2 separate regions of the Homo sapiens genome follow, and region 1 is linked to region 2. The links are contacts of gene promoters, found by promoter capture Hi-C in blood cells and fetal thymus (Javierre and others, 2016). All regions are on one chromosome and are shown on one strand. Each heading gives the region's core, a stretch centred on a gene start or on the middle of the fragment in contact. The rest is flanking DNA. Distances are from core to core; before and after follow the strand shown.

Region 1 (3,408 bases), core at 104-2,603, 120 kb before region 2:
CGTAAGATTCAGCAATTCCACTTCTAGCTATATATCCAAAAGAATTGAAAGCAGGTATTCAGAAATTGTACATCCATGTTCATAGCAACATTATTCAAAATAGCTTAAAGGTTATTGAGAAACAACCCAAATGTCCATCAATAGATAAATGGGTTGACCAAGTGTGCTATACACATAGAACAGAATATTACTTGGCCGTAAACAAGAATGAAGTCCTGATACATGCGACAACATGGATGAACATTGAAAACATGCTCAGTGAAATAAGACGGACACAGAAACACAAGTTTTGTATGATTCCACTTGTATGAGATACCTAGAATAGGCACATTCATAAAGAGAGAAAGTAGAACGGACACCCGGGACCAGAGGGAAAGGAGAAATGGGAAGGTATTGTTTAATGGGCATAGAGTCTGTCTGGGATAATGAACAAGTTTTGGAAATGGATAATGGTTGCACAACATTGTGATGTAGTTAATGCCAATGGATTGTACACTTTAAAATGGTTAAAGTGGTACATTATGAACATTTCACTATAGTTTTTAAAAATCAACAAAAAATTTTATGTAAAAAGTTCTGTGGGGTTTAATCTTTTAGCAGTTCATAAATCCATTAACATTTGCCACAGCTACCCTACAGAGAGGCATACTATGTGAACACCACACTTGGCTTTCTGAGCTGGAACTAAAAACACCATTACTCTACTCCTTGGAGTTTCCCCAGAGTGAGTCTGTCCACACGTGGTTGCTATTGGACCCTACCTGTTGCTACTGTATCACTGTGCTGTGTTACTAAGGAGTGTGACACGTTCTGACTTTCAAAGCATTTACACAGTGAATAATACCACTTTTGTGCTCCTTGGTATAAGGCCACATCTTCAAGTACTTCAGCATTTAAAAAAAAAAAGTGAGCAAAGGATTTATCTGGCTAGAGTTTAAACTCCAATCATTATTTAGTCAGGGACAGAGCCAATTGTAGTGTTTAAACAGCATTATTATTTAGACAGGGACAGAGCCAAGTTTACGGAATTCTGGAAGGCAAGCTTAACCTCGGGGTACCTTAGCAGTGTTCTATGTGCTGGTCCTGAGCATTTAATCCAGAGCAAACTGGTGATCCATTTATAACCCAAGTTTTCTCTGTAAACTGGAAATAAAAAGATGGATAAGGCATAACTCCTGCTGTCTGTCATGGGGTTGAAAGTCTAACAGAGGCGTAGAAATAATGCGACTAGGGTACAATAAGTGTTAATCAGCACATATTCAAAGTGTGTTGGGTGACTGGGGTCAGGGTCCAGGGCAAGGTCACAGAGATGAGATGGCATTTGAGCCACATCCTGAAGGAAGAATGGAGTTTTCCAGGATGACAAAACACAAAACGAAGGAATATGCATATTCCTTTTGCATATGCAGAAGGAACTGCATATGCAAAACCTCAAAGCATGGCAGGATGGGACACCCAGAAAACCACAAGCAGCCGTGTGTGGGTAGAGCAAAGGCGAGTAGGAGAGTGGCAGATCCTGAAAGGACATAGAAAGAACTGAGATTTTGTCATAGCTCAATGGGCAACATGGGCAACTGTTGAAGGGTTTTAAGTGTGGAAGGGGCCTGGAGGGGCATGATCAGGTTTTCATTTCAAAAAAGAAATTTAAGTCTGGTGGATGGATTTGAAGCTTGGGACAAGGAGACTAGTCTGAAGATTGTCAGAGGAATCCAGGTGAGAGGTGAAGAAAGCCCAGGTTCCAGAGCTATTTCAGAGGCAGCAGAGACAAGAATTGTAACTATTTCACTAGAATGAAGTTCAAAATGAGGTCACCGTTCCTTTCATCTTGGAATTATAGCAAGGTGAAGCCCGCAGAGCTGAAGGGCAGCTGGTTCCTCCTGTACCCGCTTCTTGTGGCCAAGCCGCAGGAGCCTCAGCCTTGCCATGGGAATGGGGCCTGTAGCTGCTTTTTCTCTCTCCTTCCTCTTCTCTAGGGCACCCTTACTCAGCCTTCCTAAACTATTTGAAGACATGGCCTTTAAATTTCCTGTTGTCTTAATTTATTTTTTTTTTGACTCAGTTTTATGGATACTTCAAAAATCAAGAAAGAATAAGAAGATAGTAAAGAATGTTCCTCTCAGCCACCCTGCATCCATCCATTTCCCACCCCAACCTGCAAAAGGTAACCACTGGATGGGCCCGGTGGCTCACACCTGTAATCCCAGCATCTTGGGAGGCCAAGGTGAGCAGATCACTTGAGCCCAGGAGTTCAAGACCAGCCTAGGTAACATGGGGAAACCCCATCTCTACAAAAACACCAAAATTAGCTGGACGTGGTGGCGCATGCCTGTAGTCTCAGCTACTCGGGAGGCCGTGGTGGGCGGATCTGTTACTAGTCTCTTATGTATCCTTCCAGGGATTTTTGTAAACCTATAGTCAAGCAAATATGATTTTACGTTCTTCCTTTCCCCCTTTTATTTCCATTCTTTCTTGGGGACAGGGGTCCTTCTTAGGATAAAGTTAGGAAGCCCCAGGGGAACTCATTCAGACCTAAGGAGTCAGTCCTAGTTGCCGTTGTCTATTAGTAAGCCCTTTTCCTCTGCAATACCTTACAGTCTAAGGGCCCCAAACAAAAAGCCTTCCAGTGGGGCAAGGCCTGATTGCCTTAGGAGGCCCCACAATGGCCGAGGCCTCCATCTATCCCTGGACCTACTGAAGTAACTGAGGCACCCATGCTGGCCTGCACCAGACAGTGTGTGTGAGACCCTTGAACACAGTGGAAATGCAGGCATCACTGAGGCACCCAGCCTCAGGCTGAGGACAGAGTGCCTGTGCTGTAATTAGATGTGACTCCTCCACAGCCAAGAGGGCCTACACTCTCAGTGACGATTCTTCCATGACATTCAGGCACTTTCCCCAGGTACAGCCATGGCAGAAGATGGCTGGGCACAAGGGACCAGCTGCACGCTGCTCCTGGAGTCAGCTCTCCAGGACAGGCCTCAACCTTGGGCCTCTTCAGAAGCACTGCTCCTATTTCTTGCCAGCCGATCTCAGCCCAAGCCACCCAAGTCTGCACCCCCCTGAGTACAGTGGAGATATTACATTAACTTTGAAATAAAAGGAGAGACTCTAGGTCTCACTGCTCCCTTCCAGAAGCTTCTTTTGCCTCTTGCAAACATGGGTGGCTTTGGGAGGAGTGCCAGCACACTTCATATACCAGAAGCACCTCAGCCCTGAGGTCTTGGGGACATAGATAGGTTCTTCATCTCACGTGATGGGGACTGAGCTCTTTTTGGTGGGTAAAGTGGATTGAAATAAAGGAGGAGGGCTGACAGGAATTTGAGACTAGCCTGGGCAACAAAGCAAGACCGCATCTCTACAAAAAATAAAATAAGGTTGGGTGTGGTGGCTCATGCCTGTAATCCCACC
Region 2 (3,503 bases), core at 617-3,116:
GGCTCACCCCTGTAATCCCAGCACTTTGGGAGGGCCAAGTGGGCAGATCACTTGACCTCAGGACTTGGAGACCAGCTTGGCCAACATGAGGAAAACCCGTCTCTACTAAAAATACAAAAATTAGTTGGGTGTGATGGTGCACGCCTGTAGTCCCAGCTACTTAGGAGGGCAAGGCACAAGAATCGCTTGAACCCGGGAGGTGGAGTTTGCAGTGAGCTGAGATCGCACCACTGCTCTCCAACCTGGGCGACAGGGCGAGACTCCATCTCAAAAAAAACCCCAAAACTAAAAAAAAAACCCCAAATGTTGGAAAGTTGCGCGAGGTATAATTCAGTTTAGAAATTAAGAATCCAAGACAAAAAGTCTGCCTCAGGACCACACACAAGCACGAAGAAACCAAGATAGTTCAAGCATGGACCTTAAAACTGCACTGTCTAAGGCTGTTGTCACTGGTCTCATGTGGCTATTTAAATTTTAATTAAAGTGAAATAAATTTTAAAATTCAGTTACTAAGTCACACTAACCATATTTCAAGTGCTCAATGGCTCCATGTAGCTAGTGGGTACTGTACAGACAGCACAGGATAACATTTGCATCATGGCAGAAAGTTTTAGTGGACCTAACCAAAAAAAAAATGCCTTTAGGCTCATTTCGTGATGGCAGATAAAAGCCTCTGGAATTCTGATAAGTTTCTGAAGCCATGTTATAGAACTGGTTATTGTAATTGCATGAACTTCATCCAAAACTGGTGAAAGCGTCAGGTTGGGGATAGTCTGGTGGTTGTTACTTTCTGTCCAACCTAATACTGAGGCTCTGAGAAATTCTGTGGTGAATTTCTGTAGGGGGACACAGCAGAAAAGGCATAGTATAGGTCAGAAAACCTGGGTCCTATAATACATAGTAATAATGACGACCATTTACTGGTTGTTTCCTATGTACCAGGCACTGTGCTAACCACAGGCTTCATTTAATCCTCACAATACCTGTGTAAGGTATTATTACCACCACTTTGCATGTGAACAGGCTGAAATTCAGAGGAGTAAGGTCACACAACTAGTAAGTAGGAGAGCCTGGATTCAACACCTGGTATCTATTCCCTTGCGCTGAACAACTCCGTGCCCTCACTTTCTTCATCTGTAGATCTAAAAGGATTAAATTAGAACATCTCAAAATTTCTACTACTTCTAAAACTCTGTGTTCTAAATTAGGACATTACTATCTATCTCCCCAAGCTAATGAAATAAGCAGGGTTCCTGGGAGGAGCTTGTTACCTATTTTTCTCCAAAGGAGATGCTTTCCCCTGTCTATGCCTCTGTCCTAAAACCTTTGGTTTCCCACTATCTAATGTGGTTTCAACTATCTATGAGGCGCTTTCGTGGCAAGGAGTGATTCTCTCCAGTAGGCAATCCTAAGAACGAGCGCAGTGCTTGGCGCACAGTAAATGCTCCATGGACCATTTATGAAATTAAGTCTAAGTGGACTTCAGGAAAATGTGAATCTGCTAAAATGAACTACTAGCCAGTATACTAGGTAGAAAACCCAGCTGACGAAGAAAACCCCAAGTGGAGAAGCCCTTGTAGGGGGTTGGAGACAATTTCTGACCCGCAGAAACCTGCAGTGGCGCTGACGTTTACAAGTGGTGGACAAAACGCCACTTGCAACACTGGAAGAAGCGGAAAACCCCACCCACTCTGGAACAACAGCGATCAGCCCCGAATATAGGGTCCCCTTGCCGCCCCGTAGCCTCCTAGTCCCGCCCCTCTCCCAAGGCCCGGCAGTGGCAGCGGCTGCGGCTGCGCAGTGGCGCGGGCGTAGGCGGAGCAGCGCGCGCCGCGGTCAGCTGACTGCTGGGCTGGCACGTGACTTGTTCTGTGTTCGCTTGGGTAGAGGAAGCCGTGAGGCCGGAGCTTAGGTCGGGAAGGGATGGATCGCTGAGCCGATAGCGTCCGCTAGGCTGTCTGCCTCGGTACCTGTTACTGCTGCTACTTCCTCGTTTGACACCTTCCTGGGTCAGTGAGCGATGGCTCTCCCCGGATGGGGAGTCCTGGTCAGGCCGAAGCATGAGCTCCGGTCGCTGCCTGGGAGGGACGCGGGTGGGTGCGGGGGCAGAGACCGTGGCGTTGGAGCTGGAGCTGGCTGGGTGGCTGTGTCTGGTTTCTCGGCGCCAATTCACCGTCTTGGGCCTAGGTTCCGTCTCTAAGGAAGAGAAGGAGGGAAAAAGAGAAAGAGCTCTCGTGGGTAGTTAATGACAGGCAGAAAGGAGAGATACAGCGGTCTGGGATCTTTCTTCTTGGGTAGGAATGCACGCCGCCTGATTGATTGAGGGGAATGAAGTGATAGGTCCAGGTGAGGCTATGGAGTGGTGTGTGTGAGGTCACAGCTAGCGCAAGTGCCTTCACTGGGTGTGTGTTGGGGGGGGCGCGGGTGTCGGGGGTCGGGGGTGGTGGGATGACAGTTTAAAGGCCTAGGAGCCCCTAACTGCAGGCAAGGAACCCTCACAGAGTACACAAGGTCCCTCTAGGAATGAGAAAGAACAGGAATCCAGAGAACTCAACTATTTTTTAGTAGAATGGGGGAGGGTAGGCAAACAAAACAGAACAAAACAAAACAAACCCCTAGAAAAGAACTTGGTGAGAGTCACATAAGGCATATTGAATCACTTGAGAAACAGGAGTAAGGGGGAAGCTAGTATTCTTTTCAGAGGAAAATTCTGGTATGTTAGGGAAAAATCACATGCTTCAGTGCGAGCCCAGTACTTAGCGCCGCTCTGGGAATGGAACGGGTGGGATGTGAACAGTCTATCCTTAGGAGTTAGCACTAACGTTGGAGAGAAAAGTCTACACACAGGACACGTTAAAATACGATGCAGTTTATGTATACTTACCAAAAAGAGAATGCGAAGTGCTTTGAAAGTGTGGAGCAACGACACATGTGTAAACTGGCACTATGGGAAGATATTCTGGAGGAAAGAAAACTTGAGTCTTGGCAAGCCCTCAGGATTTGAACAGGTTGAGAGAAATGGGGATAATTTTACAGGCAGGGAAAGCCACAGGATTTGAAAGCCTGAAGATGGGGGTAGGGAATGCTTCTGGTGGAGTCAGAAGTAGCTTTTACAGTGGATTGCACTGCGGAGAAGTGGGAAAGAAAGTTGGGAGTCAGGTAACGAGGACTTTTGAATGGTAGTCGTTTACTTATTCATGCAAATAATGTGTACTGAATACATGCTGTATGCAGGTACAGTGCTGATGGTAGGGTTTAGAAAATTGTCTTTATAGAGCTTACAGGCAAGCAGAGGGGATGGATTTTAAAAATCAAGCAAGCGTGAAATGTGCTTTGAAGGAATAACAGTGGTATGAAAGAGTGTAGTAGGGGCATGTGTATTATGGAAGATTTTAAAAAGGCATTGCTAAGAATATGACTTTTTAAAGATTAAAACAATTTTATTTATATTCTTCATACCCTCTCGCTCTGAGAGGGTATGACTTTTGACCTGAGATCTGAAA

Evidence for each region. The method cuts DNA at HindIII sites, captures the fragments that hold promoters and counts their contacts. A CHiCAGO score of 5 or more calls a contact.
Region 1: a fragment that was not itself captured here is called in contact with the fragment with the promoter of ATP6V1C1 in region 2 in 1 of 17 cell types (erythroblasts); the score reaches 5.7 in erythroblasts.

The regions. Positions count from the first base shown.
Region 1 is chr8:102,902,165-102,905,572 of GRCh38, forward strand. The region is part of intron 2 of MAILR (macrophage interferon regulatory lncRNA); the gene reads left to right. Among named protein-coding and RNA genes, the nearest start is that of MAILR, 40 kb to the left of the region's middle. RefSeq lists an enhancer at 2,906-3,408. The HindIII fragment of the contact is 627 bases long and covers 1,041-1,667 here.
Region 2 is chr8:103,019,217-103,022,719 of GRCh38, forward strand. ATP6V1C1 (ATPase H+ transporting V1 subunit C1) reads left to right here and starts at 1,867. Exons shown (of 13, transcript NM_001695.5): 1 at 1,867-2,009. RefSeq lists an enhancer at 2,097-2,306. The HindIII fragment of the contact is 13,168 bases long and covers 1-3,503 here.